2 separate regions of the Homo sapiens genome follow, and region 1 is linked to region 2. Evidence: promoter capture Hi-C in 16 types of primary human blood cells and fetal thymus (Javierre and others, 2016). All regions are on one chromosome and are shown on one strand. Each heading gives the region's core, a stretch centred on a gene start or on the middle of the fragment in contact. The rest is flanking DNA. Distances are from core to core; before and after follow the strand shown. Region 1 overlaps EXOG (exo/endonuclease G). Region 2 holds the start of ACAA1 (acetyl-CoA acyltransferase 1).

The links. Contacts are between HindIII fragments. The CHiCAGO score rates a contact against its expected background, and 5 or more counts as called.
Region 1: a fragment that was not itself captured here is called in contact with the fragment with the promoter of ACAA1 in region 2 in 5 of 17 cell types (naive CD8 T cells, total CD8 T cells, fetal thymus and 2 more); the score reaches 7.3 in naive CD8 T cells.

Annotation. Positions count from the first base shown.
Region 1 is chr3:38,514,692-38,521,689 of GRCh38, reverse strand. All of the region lies in intron 5 of EXOG (exo/endonuclease G), which reads right to left. It also overlaps the pseudogene DDTP1. Among named protein-coding and RNA genes, the nearest start is that of EXOG, 22 kb to the right of the region's middle. The HindIII fragment of the contact is 592 bases long and covers 2,104-2,695 here.
Region 2 is chr3:38,132,184-38,139,643 of GRCh38, reverse strand. ACAA1 (acetyl-CoA acyltransferase 1) reads left to right here and starts at 2,517. Exons shown (of 12, transcript NM_001607.4): 1 at 2,517-2,779; 2 at 2,959-3,052; 3 at 5,635-5,692. The coding sequence starts at 2,609. MYD88 (MYD88 innate immune signal transduction adaptor) reads right to left here and starts at 983. Exons shown (of 5, transcript NM_002468.5): 1 at 616-983. The coding sequence starts at 943. RefSeq lists enhancers at 260-389, 890-1,299, 459-1,402. The HindIII fragment of the contact is 10,893 bases long and covers 1-7,460 here.

The DNA.
Region 1 (6,998 bases), core at 1,150-3,649, 380 kb before region 2:
AGATGCAGCTGAGCCATAGTTTGCAAAGAGGGAGAAGGTGAAAGGGGCTTCAAGTATTCCAGGTGCTAGCTAGGAATCCAGCAGTTAAACAAAGTCTTTGCGCCACCTTGTGGACATTCCCCATCACTGCAGTACAGTTCAAGAACATTCACTTGATTTTCTCTCCTCATGGACTCCTTGTCTACAAACAAACGGCAATTTTCAAATATAATTAACATGCCCATTGCTGCCATGCAGAGCTAATCAGGCTCGTAAAATTCCAGCCAAAAGTAAAGACGTTGGACATTTTCAGTTCTACAGCTTTACTTTATGCAAATGTACCATTTCTATAGGTGTTTAAAAACTCTTACAATTGCTAAAGGACCTCGATTCTACTTTTGAGAAACCTCATGGAAACAGAAATTCCTATTAGGAATCACAGGTGTGATCCTTCTACCCATGACCTTCTCACACTATTTCAAGGGGGTAAAATACTATCCCTAGAACTAAGGAGAAAAATAAAAACTTAGCCACTCACTAATCTCTTTTCTGATTCAGTCTGCTTTGTTCTTAGGAAGCAAACATCTTTAATCTGTCTAATATAGGGACAGGTCCTAGTTGGGTATTCAGAAAAACACACCGTTTCTTCCTTGAATTTAAGACAATTTTTTAAAACAACATCAATCGTAAAATATTTTAGAGCTGTCTCTTTAAAGACAACTCAATCTACATAATAAATTTTTCCTACTTTTGGAAAAATTGGGAGACTTCCAGAAATGTTTCTAAACACTACTAGAGGTTTGGTGGACTGGAAGCCCAGAGACCTGGTCAAACCTGGCTTTGCCACTAAGCTGCAAGTCGCGTCCACCCATTTCTTGTTTCTTCATTTACAAAATACGTAACAGCCATCCCCGTGGGTGGATTGCTATTTTGTATTTTATAAATGCCTCTCTCATAGAATTGTTATGAAGATACAATGACATGTTAGTTAAAAATTTTTCAAAATCTACAAGATCTATGTAAAAAGCTATTTTGTAGTGGACATCATTCAAAAGATACAACGGCATTTGGTACAAAAGATGGTTTTACAGAGGGATGGGGGCGGGGGAAACGTATAATCAAGCAAGATTAGACTAGTTACAGGTCAGCAATGGGGTTTCAGGAGGAGAAAGCAACTTGGGCACAAATGATGTCTGTAACAAAGGACTCAAAGGCTTAACATAAACCAAGTCTAGTTAATCAGTGAGTCAGCAAACAACCCTTTTCATGTAAGATTTAGGTATAAAAATATTTTGCAAAGGAAACCCTTGCTGCTATTAAATTCCCAAGAAGCACTGAACTCTACTCAAGACTGTAGCAAAAATTGGAAGTCAACTGGGAGTTAACTAGAAAATACAATACATAAGCTGGCACTCATTCGCAACCTGAAGCTAGTTTTCTTATATACTGGCCTGAGCTTGTTTCCTTCCATCCAAGAGACAGAAATGACAATTTGCCACCACCACCTGTGCCACCCAGACCCAGAAGAGACCCAAAACAAACAATACCCATATTAAGCCTGCCATTTGTAAGGTCATACATACTGTAAATGTGCCTCCAATAAAATATTAAGCAGCATCAAGAGGAAAAAATATGTACCTGCTAGAATTAGATAGATATATTTGGTTACATTCCCCTGGTAAGACAAAAAAAGAAACTCCAAAAATAAAACTAGAGGGACAGATCAAGAGACCACGCCCTTAAAAAGTCATGCCGATCAAGTGAAAGAAAGAAACCATGGGAGTTTGATAAACAGGAAATCCGAACCTGAGGGGGGGAAGGAACATGAAAAGTGAGGGAGTCACAAAGTGTGGTAAAGTCAACAAGAATGTGGTCGCCCCCTGTGTTATCTATAGAGCCTCAGCAGATGCTTTTGTGGCAGCACAAACCCTGGAAGACGGTACTTCTCACACTGGGGTACCTGTTCCAGGCCAAAGGGTAGCAGCCTACTAAGTCACAGTAAAACAAGCACCCTCTTTCTAGGCTGTCAATGGTACTTGAAAATTTAGGGTGAGGGTAGGGAGACAACCAGTAAAATAATTTAACTTTCATTAAAACAAATAGATATGGAAATGAACAAAAGCTTTCCCTAAATATAAAGCAAGAGACTTAAAAAAAAATATTACTCCCATATCACTTCAAATGATGTCTCAAGACTCCTGAGGGCATTTTCAATTTCCTCCCCTTTAGGGTTAGTATAATGGAAGTTTGCAAAGTGCTGTTATAAAAGAACACAGATTGTTAAATATTTCTAACATTACCACCATCACTGAGTTCTAAAATCTGAAGCTCACTTTCTTGTCAGACCATTTATAATGTCCAAACCAGAATCTTCAGGTATGTTTCACTTGTCTGGAATCAACCTCTTCTTGAAACAGGAACATCAGAGAAAGCACAGGGATGACCTCAGCTATATAATAAAGGGGGTGATTCTGATTAGAACTGTCAGATGACTCACTTCTGATAAAATCACTGCTACGAATCTTCCCTTAGGCTCATATTCACTCAAGTTCTATGATGATGTGATCCTTTCCTACATATTCTAACAGACATTTCTGCCTGGCTATAAGGAATCCTCCTCTTGGCCCATTTTCTGTTATTTTTGCATGCTAGCAAGTATCACTTGTAACTCCTCTCTCCATCCACACCATCTTTTATTATCTGCTAACCTTAAGCTTTTGTATATGAACAGCACAGCAATTCATTTACTATAAACTTGAGCGCTTCAAAGAGTAACACTGTGAATGACTGGCAATTGTCAGACAGACCCATGTTTGGATACCCTCTTTGACAATTATAAGCTATATGCCTGAGACTTGATCCTTAAAGCCTTGATTTTCTTGTCTATAAAAGAAAATGGTCACTACTTTTTTTGTAAGGGTGTAGTGAAGATTGAATGAGATGCATATATAAAGCTACTTACATACTGCCTGGTATACCTGGCCCTCAAGAAATGCCAGTTCATTTGCTTTACTTCCCCCAAAGTAAAAACACATATATGCTTCATTGCCTGGACAGAAAACTAAATAAACCCTTTTATTGGGTACAACTTCCTAAAATAAGGTTCAGAGTATAGTTGTAAGCAAGCAGTAAATATTAAATGGCTAGATCTGAGAAAACAAAACACTTTCCAAGCACTCTGAATTGCCGTACGTAATTGCAAGACATTGCCTTGAAAGTGGGAATTCATGATTCAAATTATTCGTTGCTTGAGAGAAACAGACCAGTCTCCAGCACTGGGCAATGCTGTGTCCCCTTTCCCAGAATAATTAAAGGACATCATTTTATCTATATTTGTTTTATAATTAATTGCCTACTTTTCAAAGGCCCTGCTTGCTAGAAAATTATCTTGAAGTTCTTGCCTAAACTTTTTAGCTGGTCATTTGAAGTTTCTGCCACCAGGCCCCAAACTTTCCTTTTATTTTTGTCTCCTTCCCTACATGAACGCTCTAACTTAACTGTTTTCTCAGCATATATCCTATCGCTTCTCATCTCTTCACCTTGCCTAGGTAGACCTCCCACATCTCTATTTCTTAACCAAATTCTCCCAAGTTTATAGATACATGTGTGTGTGCATATATATAAAAATTTGGGCCCAATTAAATTCTTGGCAAGAATTTCAAGATAATTTTTCAAATTTATTTTACTAACAAACTATATTTTGCTTTCATCTAACAGATACACCAAAGATTTTTAGGTTTAAAATTCTACCTGAAATAAAGTTTGACTTGAAATATAATGCCAAAACTAATAAAAGCAGTATTATTATGGAGATATTTGTTAGTGAAAAACATAAATATATAAAAGTAGATGTCAGTTTGATATGCTTCTGAGAAAACTGAAAAACCATATGCTCCTCCAGAAATATGGATTCGTGAAGTCAATATTCAACTTTACATATACATACACAATGTACAAACACAGTGAACTGCTTTCCTAATGACCAGTGTCTGTCAATCCCTGTTTTGAAATACAAGAACACAGAAAGCAGAGGAGAAAGGCCTTCTCAACAGTGAGCCACTAAAGGCAATGGAATCCATATACTACGAGCTTTGGGGCTCTCTCCATCCACTACAAAAGGCTAAAAATAAATGTGGTGAACACACCTGACAAACCAAACAGCAGAGCAAGCACTCAAGAATCAATCTGAATTGCTGTCCAGATCTTGGTTTCTAAACATCAATCCCCACTAAAAGGATCCAGTGCTCCTTGGAGAAATGGCCGATGGCCAAGATGAACATGGAACATAGCCTTATACCAGAAAGTAGGAAATGCTAAAAAATGATGAGGATGCATCAAAAGGACACAGGAGACACTGGAAGGAGCTCCCACTGGCTAAATCTGGGGCAATTTGAGCATCAAAATGAACAATCACAGTAAACATTAAAACTCTTTGAATAAAAATAAATCTGTGAGTCTACATTGATAACAAGGAAAAGCTCTAACAGTGGAATGTCAACTAATAAATTAAGGAGTAAGAATTAGAAAGTCATCATTTAGCAACTAACATAGTAATAACTAATTCAGGCAGGAAATATCAATGGATGCTAAAACTATTGAGTGAAAGTTCGAAGACGAAAAAGATGCTTACATCGCCTCAAAGTATTTCCACAGATTACTTATAAATTCCAAAGGGGGAAATGGTGAAAAAACCTGGTAGACACCACCTTAACCAAGTAAAGTTAAAATCATCAATAATCAGACAAACTGATATTATGCACCTCCTGATGCAATGCACTGAGAAGGACACAAGATCACTGCTCCTACATTCTGCCAAAAACATAATGAATCATGAGCAAACAACAGACAAACCCAAAGGAGGGACATACTGTAAAACAACTGGCCCGTACTATTCAAAAATATCAAAGTCATTCAAGACAAAAGGCTGAGTCAGAAGCTAGTTCAGATTAAAGGAGACTACAGAGACATGACAACTAAATGCAATGCTCAATCCTGGTTGGATACTGAATCAGAAAAAAAAAACAGTATAAAGGATAGTATTGGGTAATTTGTAAAATTTCAATATGGACTAAATATTAGGTAGTATTTCTATATGTTTTTTCACGAATTTGATAATTATTCTGTGGTTACATGACAGAATGCTTAGGAGGAAAGGAACAAGATATCTGCAACTAACTCAAATGGTTCAGAAAACAAAAACAGGTGTATGCCTATCTATATGGGGGAGCATAAATGTGGCAAAATGTTAACAACCAGTAAATCTAGGTGAAAGATACAGGGAAGTTCTTTTTATTGTTCTTATAACCTTTCTATAAATTTGAAATTATTTCCAAATAAAACATTAAGAAATATTAACCTGCTAAAAGCAAAGACAAAAACAAATTAACCTGCTTTGCAAAACACTAATAAATATAGATTAAAGTAGGGTTTCCAGTTAAAAAAGGCAAATTGAACACGGGTTTTTGGTCCTCTCCTCTGCAAATTAAAAGGAAAATACATATATATATATATGGATATCCATATATATATTCCACATAAATATATGGAATGGCAGTAAAAAGGTATAAAAGTGCTGAAAAATGACAGAGTACTGCATTACTGGACTAAGAACTACCGTGAACTTCTGGAAGATGAAAGATGGATGTGATGACATTGTTAAGATAAAATATACAGGAAAAAGCCAAAGCTGATATTAATATTTTTACCACCCCTTAAGTAGTACTCTAGCAAATAAAGGGTATCAAAATCAAAGTGTGTGACTGAAAAAAATTCATCTGCAGAATTATCCTACAACTCACAAAAGTAGCAGGCCTTTGTTTTGCCTTCATATGAGGCTAGAAAAATACTCTCTAAAAGAATGGGTCTCTTTTTCTACAGCCCATGCCCTTCCTAGAGCTAGACACGAACTTGCCTGCCAACCAAGTGCCTGCAGGGTTGGAGAAATGGCTCTGCGCCACAGCCTCCATCCTGGGCAAACCCAAGGATGGGAGCATGGGCCAGGGAGCACAGAACAAGGGCAGCATGTGAACATGATGGGTGTAGCGGGCCTGACCATGGTGCTGAGTAGGTCCACTGAGCCCTGGGCGCAGCTGTTCATCTCCTCCACCAGCATGATGGACACCACTGAGGAGAACCGCAGCCACAGCACCCACTTCTTCGAGTTCCTCACCGAGGAGCTGGCCCTGGGCCAGGACCAGATAATTTTCCACTTTTCCCCCCTGGAGCCCTGGCAGACTGGCAAGAAGGGGATGGTCATAACTTTTTAGTGACTGGCCTCGAGGGATCCAGGGCATCTGTGAGCTGGCTGCCCCTTCCAGAGAGTCCTCCTGGCAGAGCACCTGGTGTTACCAGCTTTGGGTAATTCCTCATGAGACATTCCCGTGACCTCATAATCCTCTTCTTCTCCATCCTCAAGTCAAATAAAGGGATCATCCTCATTAAAATAAAATAAAATGGTGGTATACATAAAACTACTCTAGAGAACTTGTCATACATAAAGATTCCTGAGCGCATCTTCAGAGTTTTAGGACATTTTCAGACATGCAAGGACTCGGAAAGGTTATCATCCATTGACTCTTCCAGAAAAAATTTGAGGATATACTCTACCAAAGCAAAAAAAAGTTATCTATAAAAAAGGGTAGCCAGGTGCAGTGACTCATGCCTGTAATCCCAGCACTTTGGGAGGCTAAGGCAGGCGGATCACTTGCAGTCAGGAGTTCAAGACCAGCCTGGCCAACATGGTGAAACCCTGTCTCTACTAAAAATATAAAAAATTAGCCAAATGTGGTGGCAGGTGCCTGTAATACCAGCTATTCAGGAGGCTGAGGCAGAAGAATTGCTTGAACCTGGGAGGTGGAGGCTGCGGTGAGCCAAGATCGCACCACTGCACTCCAGCCTGGGGGACACCGTAAAACTCCGTCTCAAAAAAAAAAGCAGGGGGAGGGGGGGGAGGGTGGAAAAGAGGGATTTAAGATAATATTTAAGGGGAAAGAGGAATTTAAGGACCCAAGCTAGGAGTA
Region 2 (7,460 bases), core at 1,268-3,767:
GCCATCAAAGTCAGGTTTGTATCTCTGTCCCTTCCTAGGGATCCTAAGAATGGTACCAAGGTAGGTCTGCTTCTTCTGGGATCCAGGGCAGATGTGAGCAAGGGGCTGGGCATGCCAGAAAGGCTCAGGAGACCCACTGGTTATGGTGCAGTGATTCCAACTCAGCAAGGTGTGCCTGTCTGTGGGCGGCTGTATCCAACGCCTATGCATGTATATTATGTAAGTGCCAGTGAGTAGAAAGAAGGGCTGCATTTCCCCAGGACTTGAGGTTTCTAAGACAGTCCACTGTCAATCGCCCCACCTGTCCTGTTGCTCTACTTGAAACAGCCCAGATGCCCCCACAGAAGCCTGATTCTGACTCCTGGCCCTACCTGAAAGCCTCTGCCTAAGCTGCTTCCTTCCCATCTCCGCCTATCCGGACCTTTCTCCAGTCCTTCTTAATAACCGCGACCGGTTATTAAGAAGGAACGGGACCCGCATGGTTCTCCCTCTGCAGGCTTCTTCGGGCCCCCGAGGCAGGAAATGGGGTCTCTCCATGGGAGACAGGATGCTGAGGCCGCGGAAAGTCAGCCTCCTCACCCCCCAGGTACGAGGCCAGGAAGGGGACGTCCTCACCAATGCTGGGTCCCAGCTCCAGCAGCACGTCGTCGCGGCCCAGCTTGGTAAGCAGCTCGAGCAGTCGGCCTACAGAGGCGCCAGGGCGTCCCTGCCAGGCGTCCAGCAGCCTGCCAGTGGGGTCCGCTTGTGTCTCCAGTTGCCGGATCTCCAAGTACTCAAAGTCCATCTCCTCCGCCAGCGCGGTCCAGTCGGCCGCCACCTGTGTCCGCACGTTCAAGAACAGAGACAGGCGGCGCCGCACTCGCATGTTGAGAGCAGCCAGGGGAAGGGAGGATGTGGAGGAGACCGGGGCCGCAGACCCCGCGCCGGGACCTCCTGCAGCCATGGCGGGCGGTCCTGGAGCCTCAGCGCGGTCGGGTCGCATTGTCTGCCAGCGCTTCCTCTTTCTCCTGCGGCACCCGCCCCGCCCCGCCGGCTTTCGCTTTCCGAGAAGCGCCGCCCTGCCCTACAATCTGGAGCCCCGAGCAAAAGTGCGGAGGCGGGGGTGCCCACCTCTACCCTTGAGGTCTCGAGGCGGGTGATGTGGGGGGCGTAAGAAGTAGGAATCTGCCTTTTGAGATCTGGAGAGGTCCACGGCACCGCCCTCGAGGGTCTGGTGATGGTGCTAGTAGGTTGGCGGCGGAGTGAGGACGACCCTCCTTCGGGGGTTGTAGGAAACGGGCCTTGCTTTTTGGGATCTGGTGGAGCCACAGTTCTTCCACGGAGGAATCTGAGGGGTTCATACGGTCCTGCCCTCGAGGATGGCGAGGAGGGGACAAGTGGGAAGGCACCAGCTCTGCCCTCCACTGTCTCTGGGGAACACGCAATCCTGCCAGTAGGGGTATGGGAAGACCCCTGCTGTGCTCCCCGAGGTGGGAGTGGGAAACGGACAGCTGCCTTCTGGAGCCTGAGGCATGCCGTGGCCCTGCCCTCGAAATGGTTGGGGACGTCATGACACTAGGTTGGGGAGCACAAGGCACCCTGTCCTTTGGTGTCTGTGGAAAGCCCAGCACTACTCTCCAGGGTCTCAGGTGAAGACATGGCCCTGCTATTGGGAGTCAAGGGGGCACGTGGCCTTGCCCTTTAGGTTTAGGGACACAGTCCTGACCTGGGGAGCCCTGGTTCATTCATTTACTCATTCGACAAGTACTTATTGATCATCTACTAAGTGTCAAGGGTGTCGCAGGCTCCCCGGATACATGGTACCTCTCTGCCTTGGTGGAGACCCCAGCCTAGCACGGGAAATGGGCACTAATAAAATCATTCCAATTGGGTGTAAAACTGGTAAAAGTGTGAAATGTTCATTCTCCAGTTAGAGAGCTTGTCACACCCCGCATGTCTGTAAAATCTGTTCTCCCGGCCAGCCCGGAAGCCCAAATTCCCTGTCTTCTCGAAAGAATGGGAAAGCCCAACCACGTCGGAGCAGGACTCGGGCGTCTCGGAAGTATTTAGGTCCCCCAGCTCGGGTACTGGGACCGGAGGGATAGCAGAGCCTCCTAGGAAGTGGGTAGAGGAATTAGAGCCTCGGCTTCCATCTCCAGCCCCCAAGCAGTAAGCGGTCCTGGCTGCCCAGCCTTCCGTTTGGCTGCGGGCAGGAGACAGGGATTTGGGGGTCAGGTCTCGGGTTTGGCTACAAAAGGTGGAAAGACTTCCGGTCTGCATTTCTGGGCGGGGATTCGTAAAGATACACCTTCTGGTTGGCTGCGGTAGGCCAAGGTAGGCGGGGCATTGAGTGGAAAGCTCGGCTGGGCGGTGCCTGTGGGCCCTCCTATAGAGGGCTTGGTAGGCGGTGGCGGGGAGGGGCGGGTTCCCAGGCCGACTCTCCTTGTGGTTGGCTGAGGCTGGAGGTGGACGGGACTTTTGGAGGGTCGCTCGCGTCTGTTCGCAGAGCTGTGGGCGGAGTTGAGGCCTTGGAGGCTGAGATGTGGTTCTGCGCGTGTGCGGACGGCTGTCTGTTAACTCCGCGGTCAGTTCCCGGACTGGTGGCTGGTCTGCAGGGTTGACCTGCGCAATGCAGAGGCTGCAGGTAGTGCTGGGCCACCTGAGGGGTCCGGCCGATTCCGGCTGGATGCCGCAGGCCGCGCCTTGCCTGAGCGGTGCCCCGCAGGCCTCGGCCGCGGACGTGGTGGTGGTGCACGGGCGGCGCACGGCCATCTGCCGGGCGGGCCGCGGCGGCTTCAAGGTGAGGCCCGAGGGTCTGGGCGCCGAGTGTGGGAAGACGCCGGCGCGGGCTGGGGTCCGGTTCGTATGTTTGGTTATCCTGGACGCCGGAGGCAGCTCCGCACCCAGCTGTGGTCGCTTTGTCTCCCTGGGGTGGGCATGGGGGAGTGGGGGTCACTGCGGCTGCTCTTTCTGCTGCAGGACACCACCCCCGACGAGCTTCTCTCGGCAGTCATGACCGCGGTTCTCAAGGACGTGAATCTGAGGCCGGAACAGCTGGGGGACATCTGTGTCGGTGAGCGAACCACTCAGGCCCTGCGCTGGGCCTTCCCCGTTCTTCCGTTCGTCCAGAGCTCTCCTCACCTCCCCGCCCCGAATTTTCACTGGGGGAACCTCCATGGCCTTGACCTTTGAAGGGGTCCTGCCCCTTCACACCTGTGGGTATTTCTCGTCAGATGGGAGGAGAGACTGAGAAAAGAAATAAGACGCAGAGACAAAGTGTAGAGTGGGCCCAGGTGACCGGCATCGGTCTCCGAGTTCCCTCAGTATTTATTGATTACTATTTTCACTATCTCGGCAAGGGGAGTGCGGCAGTGTGGGGGAAAGGAAGAGAGATCAGACTGTTACTGTGTCTGTGTAGAAAAGGAAGACAGAAGAAACTCCATTTTGATCTGTACTAAGAAAAATTTTTCTGCCTTGAGATGCTGTTAATCTGTAGCCTTAGCCCCAACCCTGTGCTCACAGAAACATGTGCTGTATTGAATCAAGGTTTGAGGGATTTAGGGCTGTGCAGGATGTGGCTTGTTAACCATTTGTTTGCAGGCAGTATGCTTGGTAAAAGTCATCGCCATTCTCCATTCTCGATTAACCAGGTACACAGTGCACTGCGAAAGGCCGCAGGGACCTCTGCCCAAGAAAGCCTGGGTATTGTCCAGGTTTCCCCCCACTGAGATTGTCTGAGATATGGCCTAGTGGGAAGGGAAAGACCTTACAGTCCCCCAGCCCGACACCCGTAAAGGGTCTGTGCTGAGGAGTATTAGTAAAAGAGGAAGGCCTCTTTGCAGACACCCGTAAAGGGTCGGTGCTGAGGAGTATTAGTAAAAGAGGAAGGCCTCTTTGCAGTTGAGATAAGAGGAAAGCATCTGTCTCCTGCTTGTCCCTGGGAATGGAATGTCTTGGGTGTAAAACCCAACCATACATTCTATTTACTGAGATAGGAGAAAACCGCCTTATGGCTGCAGGTGAGACATGCTGGCGGCAATACTGCTCTTTACTGCACTGAGATGTTTGTGTAAAGTCAAACATAAATCTGGCCTATGTGCACATCCAGGCACAGCACCTTTCCTTAAACTTACTTATGACACTGAGTCCTTTGCTCACATTTTTTCCTGTTGACCCCCTCCCCACCATTACCTTATAGTAATGGTATATAATGCCACATCCCTCTTGCCAAGATAGTAGAGATAGTGATCAATAAATACTGAGGGAACTCAGAGACCAGTGCTGGTGTAGGTCCTCAATTGCTGAGCACCAGTCCCCTGGGCCCACTTTTCTTCCTCTATACTTTGTCTCTGTGTCATTTCTTTTCTCAGTTTCTCGTCTCCACCTTGCGAGAAATACCCACAGGTGTGGAGGGGCAGGCCCTCTTCAGGCAAAACGGGGTGAACAGGGTGATGGTGGGGAGAAGGTCAGCAGGAAAACATGTGAGTAAAGGAATCTGCATCATAAATAAGTTCAAGGGAAGGTACTGTGCTGAGATGTGCATGTAGGCTAGATTTTTGTTTCTCTTTACCCAGACATCTCAGTGTAGCAAAGAGTAACAGAGCAGTATTGCTGCCAGCATATTTCGCTTCCAGCCACAGGGCGGTTTTCTCCTATCTCAGTAAATAGAACCAATAGTCGGCTTTACACCGAGACATTCCGTTCCCAGGGATGTGCGGGAAATAGAGGCCTTCCTCTTTTACTAATCCTCCTCAGCACAGACCCTTTACAGGTGTCGGGCTGGGGGACAGTAAGGTCTTTCCCTTCCCACGAGGCCATATCTCAGGCTGTCTCAGTGGGGGGAAACCTTGGACAAATACCCAGGCTTTCTTGGGCAGAGGTCCCTGCGGCTTTCCACAGTGCATCATGTCCCTGGTTAATAGAGAATGGAGAATGACGATGACTTTTACCAAGCATACTGTCTGCAAACATATGTTGACAAGGCACATCCTGCACAGCCCTAAATCCCTTAAACCTTGATTCAATATAGCACATGTTTTTGTGAGCACAGAGTTGGGGCTAAAGTTACAGATTAACAGCATCTCAAAGCAGAAACAATTTTTCTTTGTACAGATCAACATGGAGTTTCTTATGTCTTCCTTTTCTACATACACACGGTAACAATCTGATCTTTCTTTTCCCCACAATCTTCAGTCCAGCCCTCTATTCCACCCCTCACCTTGAAATACAGCAATATGATATGGCAAGAGTCTTATCCAGCGGATGCCACCCCTAGGTCGGCAATCACTGTTCCACCTCTCTGGGGTGACAGCAGGGCTCACAGGAGGATACCTGGGGAGATGTGCATTTTCAGAAACTCCCATTTCACTTTTAAGGGCAGACAACCTGCCCATCTGTGCTGATTTGGAAAAGCTGGGTGCATGGGCAAGTGAGCGTGGGACCCTCAGGGACAGGAGCTGGTGGATGACCAGGACAAGCTGTTGTATGGCTGGCTCTCCCTGCCCCAAACCCTGATGTTCCAGAGTTGCAAGTGAGCCTGCCAAGGGCTAGTGTCCCGAAGAAAGATCTGGAATGCCTCATCTCTGGTTTTCACAGCTATACTTTAGTGCCCAGAACACCACCGCCTGGCACTGAATGAAAGTTTGTTGTCCACAGGAAATGTGCTGCAGCCTGGGGCCGGGGCAATCATGGCCCGAATCGCCCAGTTTCTGAGGTAAACTTTTCTAGTTCTAGCCATGGGTTGGCCATTTTGACACTTTACTGGGCCCAGGCCCCAGGAAACTCAGTGTGCAGGTTGGGGAGGATAAGGTTGGACACCAGAATGAGGCAACGAGAGTCCTTGGCTCCCTGCTCTTGTGGACTCAACCTCTCCCCTACTTTGAAGTGCTGAGCCACGATACACAAAACCTTTGGGACTGGAGCAGAAGTTCTCTGTAGCTTGATTTTTAGCCAAAGCCAGGTTGTCATTTGCCTTTTGTGAGTGTGGACTCTGTCCTCATTTGTCAGGTGAGTAATCAAGTAAGAATGCTGAAAAGTGACTTTCAGCCTTTTTACTAGTTGAGCTGAGAACTCCAGTCATATCCCACTAGCAGAGACTTTGGGATAGGGCAGAACCATGGGGAAGGAGGACCCTCAGGAGGAGACCTGGTCAACTTTCCTTTAAGCGCCTGCAGGGTAAAGAGTGCTTAAATTATTTTCATGTGTAGATTTAAGAACTGCTTGGCTTTGTACTTCTAGATGCATAAATAAATAAATAGGAACATTAGCTAGTGAAGGAACAGGAAAACAACCCTCTAGGAACTGGGAGAGGTTTAGACTGCCCAGCCTGTAGTTCAAGGCCCCCTACAATCTGGCTCCAGACTTACCTTCCAGCCTCATCTCCTAGCTGCTTACTCACCTTGACTTTTCTTCGTTCAGCCGGCTGTGGGCCTACTGTCTTCCCTGATATGGTCATTCTGTCTCCTTGAAGTGCTAGCCCTACCTCCTCTTTCTGCCCTAGACAGAAAGACAAACCCTGCCTAAACACAGTCTCACCATTTTGGCATGAGTTATCCAGGCTCTCAGGCTGAAATTGAGAGCCCCTTCCTCTCCAGCAGTAGCCATATACTTCCTTGTGATGTGGTTTGCCCTCTTGCCCTATTATTTCAGTCTCTGATAGTTGATTCATTTTCTGTGTGTTGGTTGGGCATCCTCTAGGGCACAGTGTTATAAGCATCGCAGCATCCCTCAGGTGATGCCTTGTGGTAAGTAGGTATTTAGTGAACACTTGGTGGATTGAGTGAAGGAATGGTAACTACCTGCTAGGGAGTTAAGGGACCCTGGAAGGGTCAAACAGGCTGCACAGGAGGCTATCCCCCTGAGAGAGTCTCTGCAGAGCCTGGCCTGGGCACTAGTTCAGAGGTTCCCAACTCTGGCTACACACCAGAATCACCAGGATGCTTCCACTCCCTCAGATTCTGAGTCTGTGGGTCTGAGGAGGTCTGGAAATTTCCCTAGGGCTTTGTACTGTTGGCCAAGGCAGGTTACATCAGGAGGGGAAGCCCTACTAGCTTCCAGGGCTAAGACCAGTATGAGAGTCTTGGGGAACCTACCAGAGCAATGGATGTTAGAATATATGATGCCCATCAGAGTGCTTCGTCTAGGTGGGATCAGGCTTTCAAGAGTCCATGGGAACATGCAGGGTTAGCTATATGATTACTGGTAAGGCCGAGTGGTCCCTGGCCTCAGACTTTAGGCATTTCTTTTGCTCTGGTGCTCTGTCCCAGCAGCAGTTCCTTTTCTCTGTTTTTTGGGGGAAACAGAGATACACAGTTTTCATTTCTGAATCTTCAAAGGGAGAGAGAGAGAAGGATCCCTGTGGCCCAAACAGGCTTCCCTTGCCTTTGGGCTGTGCTTGGTCTTTGATTGAAGATTCTCATAGGAGTAGAAGGGAATGTGCTTGTGGGGCCCTGGGGAGCAAGTGCCTGCAGAGATGGGGTCTG